2 separate regions of the Homo sapiens genome follow, and region 1 is linked to region 2. Evidence: promoter capture Hi-C in human tissues and cell types (Jung and others, 2019). All regions are on one chromosome and are shown on one strand. Each heading gives the region's core, a stretch centred on a gene start or on the middle of the fragment in contact. The rest is flanking DNA. Distances are from core to core; before and after follow the strand shown. Region 1 overlaps SUPT3H (SPT3 homolog, SAGA and STAGA complex component). Region 2 holds the start of RUNX2 (RUNX family transcription factor 2).

Evidence for each region. Contacts are between HindIII fragments. The study calls those that stand out against the background at their distance.
Region 1: a fragment that was not itself captured here is called in contact with the fragment with the promoter of RUNX2 in region 2 in 2 of the 25 tissues and cell types used here (mesenchymal stem cells and spleen).

What each region holds. Positions count from the first base shown.
Region 1 is chr6:45,241,404-45,247,768 of GRCh38, reverse strand. All of the region lies in intron 2 of SUPT3H (SPT3 homolog, SAGA and STAGA complex component), which reads left to right. Among named protein-coding and RNA genes, the nearest start is that of MIR586, 47 kb to the right of the region's middle. The HindIII fragment of the contact is 3,328 bases long and covers 1-3,142 here.
Region 2 is chr6:45,323,668-45,330,100 of GRCh38, reverse strand. RUNX2 (RUNX family transcription factor 2) reads right to left here and starts at 1,771. Exons shown (of 9, transcript NM_001024630.4): 1 at 1,641-1,771; 2 at 1,317-1,440. The coding sequence starts at 1,374. All of the region lies in intron 2 of SUPT3H (SPT3 homolog, SAGA and STAGA complex component), which reads left to right. RefSeq lists an enhancer at 2,002-2,042, a promoter at 1,449-2,089 and a cis regulatory region at 3,047-3,053. The HindIII fragment of the contact is 4,056 bases long and covers 1-3,352 here.

The DNA of each region.
Region 1 (6,365 bases), core at 229-2,728, 82 kb after region 2:
TGGCTCTAGTTCTTGTTTTCTTACCTTTTTTGTATGAAAGTTAGAATTGGGTTTCTATGTCTACAAAAAAAAAAAAAATGGAAAAAGAATCCAGTAGAGTCTGGAGGCATCTAGATTTAAGCTTCCAAAGTTCTCCCTATTGAGAGTGGTAGGCACAAAGAACACACTTCTTCCAGCAGTGAATTGTAGTAATGCATGTGCATTGTTTCTATCTAGAAAGCCCCCTTAAGACTTAAGAGTTTTTTTATTAAGGGTTGGTCATGTAGGCACATGGTACCTGCATGACTAGCCATAACTAGTAAAATACTTGACTCCAAGAAAGAGAACAGGTCTTTATAATAAATCACAGTGTTTCTACAAAAGACCTAGATTAAGCTGGTATGTCAGGGTTTTGTGCCCAAAACAGGCAAAATAACCATGTTACATGGGAACACCCCAAAGGCCAAGTTTTTACATGCCAGCTGAAGGCCAGCTCTGCAGTCAGGCTCCCCAAAAGATAGCAGAAGGGCTGCTCAACTCTTTCCTGAAAAATATAGGGCTATTCCAGTTGTCTCTTTCTACTTCAGTGAATTTTGGTAGTTTGTATGTTTCAAGGAAATCATCAATTTCTTTTAATTCGTCAACGTTATTATCAGAGATTTGCTTATAGTATTCCTTTATTATCCTTTTAGCATCTGTGGGATCCATTGGGATAGCTCTTCTTGTACTTTGTGCTTGGACTGGCTGGAAAATTATCAATTTTAAAGTTTCTACTTTTATTGATTTTACTCTGTTTTCAATATCATTGATTTCTGTCTCAATTATATCTTTCCTTCTGCTTACTCTAGGATTACTTCTTATCTTTTTAGTTTCTTAAGAGGGAAGGTTTGGTTATTGACTTAAGACCTTCTTTTCTAATATGTGTAATTAATGCTGTAAGTTTTCCTCTTAGCACTGCATTAGGTGTATCTTACAAATTTTGATATGTTGTATTTACATTTTCATTTAGTTAAAAATATGTGTAAATCCCCTTAAGACATCTGCCTTGACCCGTGAATTGCTTAGATACGTGTTTTACAATTTCTGATTACTTGGGGGATTTCACAGGTACCTTCCTTTTGTTGATTTCTAGGTTATTTATGGTCAGAGAACATACTTTGTAAGAAGTAATAGCGTCTTATTTTCCTATTTTGAATCTGCATTACTTTCTATTTTTTACATGCTAGTAGGAGTTAAATATTGATTCTTAAGAGCAAATGCTTTTCATAATTTGGAGAAAACAAACCATGGGACTGATAATTTTAACTTAGTGCAAAGTTGCACTCTACTTCCTGTTACGATGATGGTTAAAAGTTCACCTGTGTTGATAAAAGACCTGAATGTAAGAGCTCAATCTGTAAAACTCTTAAAGGAAACATAGTGAAGAAGCTTCAAGACATTGAATTTGGCAGTGATTTCTTGGATATTATACTAAAAACACAGGTAACGAAAGAAAAATAAAAAATTAGACATCATTAAAATTTAAAAGTTTTGTGCATCAAAGGACGCTGTCAAGAGAGTGAAAAGGAAATCCACAGAATGGGAAAATATTTCTAAATCATATGTCTGATAAGGGGTTAATATCCAGAATACATAAAGAACTCCCAAAACTCAACAGAAAAACTCCCAAACAACCCAATTAAAAAATGGGCAAAAATGTTGAATAAACATTCTCCAAAGAAAATATACAGGTGGCCAATTAGAATATGAAAATATGCTCTATATTACCAGTCCTTAGACAAATGCAAATCAAAACCACAATGAGTTACCATTTCATACCCATTAGAAAGGCTATTTATTAAAAAAACAGTGTTGGCAAGGATATGGACAAATTAGAACACTTCTGCATGGCTGGTAGGAATTTAAAATTGTTGAACTGCTGTGAAAAATGGTATAGTGGTTCTTCAAAAATTAAACAGAATTACCACATGATCCAGCTATTGTATTTCTGGTTATATACCCAAAAGAATTGAAAGCAGAGTATCAAATGGATATTGGTACACCAGTGTTTGTAGCAGCATTATTCACAATATCCAAAAGGTGGAAACAACCAACATGTCCATCAGTGGATGAATGGATAAAAAAATGTGGTACCTACATGAAATGGAATATTATTTAGTTTTACAAAGGAATTAAATTTTGAACTTCTTGCGTCATGGATAATTTTAGAAAACATTAGGCTAAGTGAAATAAAGCAGACCTAAAAGGACAAATGTTATGCGATTCCACTTATATGAGGTACCTAGAATGGTCAAATTCATAGTGACAGAAAGTAGATTACCAGGCGCTAGAGGAGGGGGAATTTGGAGCTTTTGATTAATAGGTGTGGAGTTTCAGCTTGGTATGATAGAAAATTTCTGGTTATGGATAGTGGTGATGTTTGCTCAATAATGTGAATGTACTTAATGTCACTGAATTTTAACCTTAAGAATGGTTACAATAGTAAATTTTATGTTATGAATATTTTACCACACAAAGAAAAGTTCACTTGTATTTTAATTGTTTGGAACTCAGAATACACATTACCTTGGTAATGGTATTATTTAGGGACTTAAATTCCCAGATTAACCAAAATAGATATTCTTGAAAAAACATGTGAAATATCTGAAATACTACACATTTGCAATGAAAAACTTGTAGAAAATATTTATGATCTTACCAATCAAAGCATTACCAATCTTAAAAAATGATTTTTACAAAATCTTTTAATGCTCGAAGGTAAAGCTAGTTTTACTGTGGAAGAGTTTGTAAATAATGAAATGGGAATTTTAGGTGCATTCATAGATATTTAGTAACTGGTTGTATTTATTATGTCAAATTGCAGCTCAAATAATAAGATTTTTCATTTATTTAGTATAGATTTATAAGACATCTATATTATAAGCACATAGAAAACTTTATTCTCAAGAAATTTAACCCTCAGAATGAAAAGTGCTGAAATATTGGAATGGAGAAGGGAATGAACATGTGTATTTTAGAAGATAGGGAAGTAGGAATTAGGTTAATGTGAAAGAGAATGTTGGGTGTGGAAGAGATAGAAGTTTACTGAGGTGTAATAGCAACAGGTAATGAGTTAGAAAATTACATGCAATTAAACTCTAAACAGTGTTAAACAGGTAGAGATGATAGGCAAGAAAATTGGGTAAAATTAGTGTAGAAGGTATTAACCAGGAAGAATTTAGTATTGTGTGGACAGCACCAGTTTTCAGGAAAAGGTAGTGGGGTTGTTTGTTTAAAATGTTCACTTATACAAGAGTACTGTTTTGTGTAAGATTTAAATAATGAAGGAGAGCATAAGATTGGAAAATTTTCCTAAAGCTATTTGGGAAAAATAATGATTTAAAAATGAGATGAATAATGAAATTATTATTAAGGATATAAATAAGGTGTGGCTAATAGGTTTTATCTTTATATGCAGCTCCCCTTGGTTGCTTGAAATGTTTGAGAAGAACTGTGGGAGCGTATCTAGGCTTTAGTAGGAAAAAGATTTGTGATTGGTTGTAATGGCTCCTATAGGTGAATTACGGAGGCCGTGCCATCTCTGATCTAAATGGTAATCAGCCAAAAGCAAAACAGCCAGATGCCATGGCTCATGCCTGTAATCCCAGCACTTTGGGAGGCCAAGGATCACTTGAGCCCAGGAGTTTGAGACCAGCCTGGGCAACATAGTGAGACCCTGTCTCTACAAAAAATAGAAAAAAATTAGCCAGGTGTGGTGGCACATGCCTGTCTTCCCAGCTACCCAGGAGGGCAGATGTGGGAGGATGACTTGAGCCCAGATGTTGAGGCTGCAGTGAGCCATGATCACACCACTGCACTCCAGCCTGGGTGACAGAGTGAGACCTTGTCTCAAATAAAATTAAATGAACAAATAGTAAATTAAAAATATAAAACAGATCGGGTATATTGTAATCTGATACAGGGGAAATACAGGCAACAGTATTAGTGCAAAGAAGGAGAACTGCTCTTTGTAATTCAGAATGATATTTATTGGAAAATTTTTACTTAGTAGTTTAGTATCTTTAATACATATAGGGCTATTCAGATTTTCAAAGTTTTATACCATTTTTGGTAGTGTCTTTCAAGGAGTTTGTCCATCTCATCTCAGTTGTTGAATTTATTGGCATAAAGTAACTCAAAATATTACCCTATTATCATTTCAGTGTTTGTAGAATATATAGTTATGCCTCTTCTTTTACAATCTCTTGTATTAATGAGATTCATAATTTGTGTTCTTTTTCTCATTCTCAGTTAGTTTAACTAGTGATTTATTGATTTTATCAATCTTTTAAAAAGATCAGGTTTAGGTTTGAGTAATTTTTCTGTGTTTTTGGTCTGTTTTCTATTTGATTTTCATTCAAATTTTTATTATTTCTTTTCATTGGCTGACTTTGTTAAGCTGTGCAGTGAGTTTTTTCACTTTGTATATATTTTTTATGCTATAGAAGTTTTCTTAAGATTCTTTTTCATTGTTAGATTTTTTTGTCTGCTCATTTTAAATTCTTGAGCTTGTATATAATACATAGTAGCTTTTTTTTTTTTTTTTTTTTTTTGAGAAGGAGTCTCGCTCTGTTTCCCAGGCTGGAGTGCAGTGGCACGATCTATCTCAACTCATTGCAACCTCTGCCTCCCAGTCTCAAGCAATCCTCCCACCGCAGCCTCCCGACTAGCTGGGATTACAGGTGCACACCACCATGCCCAGCTAATTTTTGTATTTTTAGTAGAGACAGGGTTTCACCATGTTGGTTAGGCTGGTCCTAAATCCTGACCTCAAGTAATCCACACTCCTCGGCCTCCCAAAGTGTTGGGATTACAGGCGTGAGCCACCACGCCCAGCCTTATAATAGCTCTTTTAAAAGCTTTTCCTGCCAAGTTTTGTTATCTATGCCATTTCTGCATCTGTTTCTATTGACTTTTCTTCTGTTTATGGGCCTTATTTTCCTGCTTTTGTGCATGTCTAATAAATTATTTGGTGGTGAGTCATTGTGACTCATGTTTTTGACTTTCTAGATTTTGTTATCTTCCTTCAAGAATGGTGAATTTTGTTTTTCCAGGCAATTTAATTATAGATTAGTTATAGATACACTTGATCTTGTTGAGTTTTTAAAATTTTCTTAGAATTAGTATGGAATACTTTTTACTCTAGGGCCATTATAGTCTACTGCTTTCCAAGAGTCACTATTGAATGCCACTATTGTATTCAGTGATGTCTACACTCTGACTGGTGTGAACTTAAGTGTCTCCCAGCTTGATATGAGCTCTGAGAATGTTCATCTTCAAGCTCCCCTATGGTTGTGTCTTGTGTTGTGAATTTTGTCTTTATGCATTTTCAACTTAGTATTTAGCCAAAGCCTCAAGGGGACATCAGTGGAGACTTCTAAAGTTCTTTCTTGGTGAAATACTATCTCTTCGGTACACTTAGGCACTTCAGTTGCCTCTACCTCTCAAGTTGTTGTCTCTGTCTCTTGAACTTTGGCTTCTATGTTCTATCCCTGTCCTTATTCTGTTTAGAAAGTACCTACACACGAAAGGCTGGATAAGCATAGGGTGTTCTTTATTTTGCTTCTTTCAGTCATTGCTGTTATGCATGGTTTTTGTTTGTTGTGTGAGGCCAGTTATTTCATGTATTTTATCTAGTTTTCTGGTTGTTTACAGCAGAAGACCAAGTCAAGTAAATTTGCTCTGTAGTTTCCACAAGTGGAACTGTCTGGAATGTTATTTAGAATACTGTTGGAATAATGTAATTGATTGGTTTCTTATTAATCATGTTTTATTGGATAGAGTAAAACATAACCACTTTGTGTAGTCCTTCATGACTAGCAATTTGCTTTCTTGCCTTGTGTTCTTTCCTCAAAGGATCCTATGCTTTGTTTTATTCTTCTGGACAAATTTACTTTGCTTTTTCCTAATTATATTCCATTCTCTTTAAACTAGTAGTTTTTATTCTAGTTACCTTTCTTTTTCCCCCTTCCATTTCTGTTAACTCTCTTTCATTGGTCATGTACTTTCTTGGCCACAAACCTCTTTTCTCACTGATGACCTCTCACTCTTGCTGAGACCAGCTTGATCGTGGAGACCCTAACCCAGCAGCTCTAGAGGAATTAAAGACACACACACAAATATAGCGTGTGGAGTGGGAAATCAGGGGACTCACAGCCTTCAGAACTGAGAGCCCCGAACAGAGATTTACCCACATATTTATTGGCCTCAAGCCAGCGATAAACATTGTTTCTATAGATTATAGATTAAAAGTATTCCTTACGGGAAAAAAGGGATGGGCCGAAACAAAGGGATGGGCTCTGGCTAGTTTCCTGCAGCAGAAACATGTCCTTAAGGCACAGATTGCT
Region 2 (6,433 bases), core at 522-3,021:
TTTCCTCACCCTGTAAGAGAAACCATTTTTTCTCCCTTCAGGTTTAATTATTTCTGTTTGACCTAAACTGAGACTGATCCTCTAGTAGTATCCAGTTAAAATGTGTGAAGTAGGAGGAGTAAAGGAAACTCCAGTCATTAGTTGTAAGTTAAAAGCAGAGTTAATATAGATGTACACAGCAAGAAGGTTTATTTTAATGGATATAAGAAAAATTTTTGAAAACTTGCCTTGTAGTTGGAACATGTTGGAGATCATAAAGAGAATCTTGTAAGTGTGTTTAGATATTTTGCTATAATAACACATCAGCTGATGAATGTTAAAGTCATTTACATATCTGTATCAACAGTAACTTGAAATTAAATATTAAGGGACAAGATTATGCCTACTTCTTTTAAAGTCCAGCATGGTTTAATAGTTGTGGCTTTTAAAAATCATACAGGGTATCCTTATGGAGCTTTATTTTTCATGAGACTAAACAGCAGTTATTCATTTTGGTAGGTCCAAGAATGTGATTAAAAGAATCTTAGACGTTTCAGTGTTTCAGTGTGTTTATAACAAGGTCTATGGATAACAGTGTGTAGATGTAAAATTAAAATTACATAGAAAAATGCAGTTGCATGTAAGTTTTAAAATACTTCCATGAACTTTTTAATATCCTGGGCAACTATAAAGATCTTTTAAAAATGGCTGTGATGTGCTTATCATAATTTTATTTCAGCTGAATGTATACTTATATAAAGTTGTTTAGAAACAAACTTATTTAGATAGGATACAGTTTGAATTTATAAGTAGATTTCTTTTAGTTGAGCTGGTTAAAATGTTAACTGTACTACAGGTTTATTTCTGTGTTATACATGGTAGACCATAATGTTGAGATAATTCTGTGGTCTGTTATTTTGTAAAATTGCTTCCTTTTTGAAGTTTGCTCAAATATTGGGAGCTGCCGGAGTCAATAATTTATAATGCTTTGATTAATTTAGGATCTGACTTTTCTTCTGGTGAGGGTTAATGAGAGTATTAAACTGTTTCTTTTACTGTTTTCATATCCTCACCTCTATAACTCTAGAAAACATTTTGATCAATGTGAGATAATTTAATTTTGTATATTTCAAGTCATTACTTTGAAAATTAGATACATTACAGATACCAAATGCAAATATATACAGAAATTTCATTTTTCAATTCTTAATGCAACAAGATAGCATAATTAGGATCTTTAATATGCTATTTGGAAAAGCTAGCAGTTTATCAAAGAATCATACCTTTATGTTTAACAGGTTCATATCTTACAGGATTTTAAAAATGGTAACACTTACCCCAAAAGAAGTTTTGCTGACATGGTGTCACTGTGCTGAAGAGGCTGTTTGATGCCATAGTCCCTCCTTTTTTTTTCAGATAGAACTTGTACCCTCTGTTGTAAATACTGCTTGCAGCCTTAAACTGAAAATACAAACCATACCCAAACCTTGTTTTAGTTTTACAGTATGCCTGGAGTACATAGACTTTATATTTATTTTTTTCTGTCAAGAAATTATGTAGCTGGTAACATGTGAAAAGCAAAGAAACAAAACAAAAAGAGAATGAGCAAATATTTGAAGGACCTACTATTACTGCATAGACTGTGGTTAGAGAGCACTCACTGACTCTGTTGGTCTCGGTGGCTGGTAGTGACCTGCGGAGATTAACCATTTAAAAACCAGAGACTTCTTGCTGTCCTCCTGGAGAAAGTTTGCACCGCACTTGTGGTTCTGTGGTTGTTTGTGAGGCGAATGAAGCATTCACACAATCCAAAAAAGCAAAAGCTTTAAAACTCCTTTTTTTTGCAAGCACTATTACTGGAGAGGCAGAATCATGTGGTTTGTGACCTCACAGTACTCTTAAGTAAAGTGGGACTGCCTACCACTGTGGCTTTTCCCCCTTGCTCTTTCTCTCTCTCTCTTTCTCTCACAAAAGGCTTGTGGTAAGGCCTTTCCTGGCATCCAGAAGGATATAGCTTTTTAATTTTTGTGACTCATGAGGATTTGGATAGAATACAAATGCTGAAGGAGCCCAAACTCCTGTAAGGTTAAGCATTTGTAGAGCAGAGCTCTGCAGTTAAGGGCTTTCCTTTCTACTCCCCGCTCAACCTCTGCCTTTTTGCCTCCTCTTTTTAGTTCATTATTGTGTCTGTGGAAAAATGAACAAAATTGGCTCAAGAGTCTGTGTGAAATTCTGAACAACAGTGATGATATACAATAATTCACATCTTTGGACTGTATCACATTCTGGGGTCTGCTTCATATTTGCTGGGTGGCTGGATTCCTTCTGTTTTCCTTTTTCTTGTCTTCTTAAACTTGTGAATCTGTAACTCATTGTAAAAAAAAAAAAAGTTTACCTTAAGGTCTGGTTGCAAACTGCTTGCTAGGCTTGACTATAATTGGCTGTCATGAAAGTGTTAGTCTGGGCATTCTTTTACAAATTTTAAATCACGTCTGTCTAGTTTATTATCAATCTATTAGATGGCGGCCTTTACAATAAAGATTAAATGTAATGTTTCATGTATACCATTATCTCATGCCTAGTTTGAAGATCTTAAAAAAATGAATGACAGGGATTGTAATATAGTTTATTGGATGAATCTTAGTTTTCTTTATGATTGTAATATTTTTTGTCTTTCATTGAAGTGTATTCAGTTTATATAGTTCTTTAAGTAGTTTAGACATTAATAGAGTTTCTGATAGCAGATCTTCTATAAAGTAAAATGCTTATGTTATAATGTAGATTGTTCAGTATTTGATTCTATGAGCTTAGAATAGAGTGGGTTAACAGAAGCTATGTATTTTTTTGTTTCTAATGGAAGCTTTGAAATAAATTACAAAATGCTGTGTGTAGTAAGGAATAATGCCCACAGACAGAGTATGTTAGTCGTCTCGATTTGCTAATTCTGATTCAGAAGAAAATTGGAAACATCTTTGGGAAACTATCTCCTTTTTTGCCCCTTTGGACAAGTATGTATAGAACTCATTTTCTTATTAGGATGATTATATATCATAGGCAGTGAATTTTATATTTATGAATAGAGCTTCCTGTTTTCATCAGTTGGGAGCGATGGAGTATTTTTCAACCAAAATTATAAAGGCGAACAGACCAATTTTCTAGGCATTTTTTTGCCATTTATCCATGCCACTCTAAATCTGCATGTTAGACTTCTTCCTAGTGTGACAGTAACTAGGAGTGGCATAAAGTAAATGGGGTGGGCGGAGACAGTGAATTACAAAAGATTATTTGGAATGTGCAGGGAGGTAAGGGCTAGGGAGACAGGAGGGTGTTAGAACTAAAATATCCCTGTGTTCTTCCTAGTGCTATTCATTATCTGCTTTTGGTTCATATTAGATCACAATAACTGTACAAATATGTTCATAAGTTTCTTTACAGAAAATTTGATTTTCCCAAAATACACTGGTAGGGTATGGGAATGATTCTAGTCCTTTATTTTTCAAATGTCCAGAACCTTTTCAGAATAAACTTTTAGTGATAAAAAACCAGAAATACATTTTGGTGTTTTATTTTAACTATGGATTTATCATGCCTTATTGTATGTGTAAACAGATTTTACATTGAAAGGTAAAAGCGTTCATTTAACATGCAGTTATTCATGTGAAGGAGAGAAAAATTATTTTTTCTCTTTTATAAATAAGTCGTATCCATATTATCTGTATCTCTAATTAGTATCCAAAGTAAACAAAAGGAGGGTTTTGTCCTTATAGCTTGTGGGATTTCCAAACATGGTTTCATGTGTACCTATAATAGCAGAATCACTTAATTGAAAATATGTAGGTAGCTGCTGTAGTATGATCAGCAAATGGTTTTCTTCTTTTCAAATAAGCTTATAGTTTCTACATTAGCATTCACTGAAACATCTTACAAACCCAACATTTTGCTATTTTCTTCCTTAAAATCTTCTTTATGTAAACTTTGGCTCTTCAAATTGACCTGATAAGAATTTAAGTAATTTTTAACATCTATTTGTCATTTAATTACCTGTTCACTTTTTGCAGGTAATCCTCCTGCATGTAATTTTTGGACCAGGATTTGAGAGTTTAGTAGATATTGTTATATATGCACTTTTTGTCCTCTGTGAGGCCTATCAAATTCTAGCAGGAGAAAGATAGTGAAATCATGTGCTTTAAGTTAGTATATTCATTATCCACATGAATTTTTTTCCTAAAACGAAAATATATCCTCTTTGGAGCAAATATTACTTTGTTGTAAAAATTTAAAAAACAATGACAACTGGGGCACATTTGATAATTGGTACACATTTGATAACAGTGTGTTTCATTAGAAATAGCTTACTACACGTGGTGAAGAGATACTGATTTAGAAAAGTCAATGCAAATAAAGCTCTTGATTATAGATTTATACCATGGTTATAATCAGAAATTGAAAACCACAGATTTATTTTTATTTTTATTTTTGCTTTTTAAAGACCCATAAAATTTTATCCTCTCTGGGGACATGTTAGTATTTGCTGTTTTGAAGTAAGCAACAAGTTTAGGTATACTGTATAAATCACATACTTTAATGCCATGGAAATGAAATACAGTTTTGATCTTGAAATCAATTTCAAAGAAAAAAAGTTGTTGGTATCTTGCTTCTCCATTGCTTTGTAGTGAATAAAATGTGTTAGAATTGGTTGAACTTTTGAAAATACCAAGGTATTTGTGTTTAAATGCTATGTGTGTCTTCATTGTAACCATTTGAGTAATTTTTTATTTTCTTAACTAATGATCATATTTTAATACATTAGTTTTACTTTATCAATATTGTGCTCATTTCTATGCATTTTTTTAAGGATTATTTTAGACTTATTTGCTGCTAACTCTATTCTTTTATTTGCTGCTCATTCTTTGAAAAACAAAGGAGAAAATGGTTTGATGCAGGAATTTTTAAACTTTAGAAGTCCTAATTTGGCTTAAAATGTTCTGATTATGAGGTTTTACGAAGGAAGTTTTTAACTTATTGTTTCATCTTGGTATGTGACTGTTTCTTATTTTACTTTTTTTTGACAATTTTTCTTTTTTTTGGATTTGATGTATAGCTGTTTAAGCTTACACGGGATCTATTTGGCCTTATATTGACTACTTCTGTTAGTAAAATATGTATAGTTTCATCTGTTAAATTATGGTGACTGTGCAGTATTCCATTTCCTTGTTTAATGGGGTATATGTTTATGTACACAACTGCATGCACATTTGTCTTATTGCGTATGTATACAAGGCATTGTTTTGTAGTACTTTTTGTAATAAGAGCATTTTTCTCAGTTTATTTTAATTAGATCAGGTAAAAACCCAAACTAGCACCATTTCCCTGATTGTTTGAACAACTTCATTTGATTAGTTTTAGCAGCTGTCTAAATGTGAGATTATGTGGAATGCCAGAAGAGAAAATGCTAAGTCAATCTCTCCTGCCTTCCCTCCCTCCCTCTCCCTATCTCTCTCTCTCTACCAATCTCTCTCCCTCTACCTGTCTCCCCCATTCCTCCTCTTTCCCTTTCTTTCTCCTTCAGGCTTTTTTGGGTTCTCTTCCTTTTTTCCCTCATTTCTATACAGCCTCAAAGTAGATTCTTAAGTTCTAGTAGGGGATATTGACATTAATCCTCACTAATGAATACTCGGTAGATTTGGAGCTCTTAACATTCATTAGAAATTGTTATATTCTAATATGTAATGCCTCAGTTGTTAGATAGTATTGGCATCTGATTATAGAGACTTAATTTCTTTCAGCTGTTTTTAATTGTTTCTTGAATCCTTTTATGCTAATTTACTTTAATACATTGTTCACATAGTATTAACACTTTAATTATGAGGATTACTTTTTTTTCTTTGATTATTCTTTGAAGTGCAGAGTGATCCATACTTGTTTAATGTAGCTGTATAAGTAATTCATGTTTCTTGTAATTATTAGAACAATTCATCTTTGAATGCTGTCATTTTTGTAATAATAAAAAAAGGCGAGAACTTGCAGAAAATATGGGAAACATGCTCATATGACAGCTGAGGATGTGGCTAGACTAAAGCAGGAAACTACTACCCACAATGCAATGTTACATACACTACCACTTAATATAATTTATATCAAACATGCTACTGACAAAACCAAAGAAAAATAATATCCCAGCTATGCTATTTAACGTATCTAGGGAGAAGTGAAAGTAATCTTTTTAGAACCTTTGTACTTAGAGAATATAGTAAATGAAACTGTAGGACATTATAGTATACGTTGGAACACTGCTGTAACTTTGTGCTATGGAACATGGCTGTAGGTAAAACTGTCCTATAATGAGAATCTTTTGTATATTAGCTTTCTTGGAAAAGGTACAAAAGGAAAATCTCCTCTCTTTCAATTGAACTCTTTTAGTATTAAATAGGATTAGAGGATATTATCACTTGGA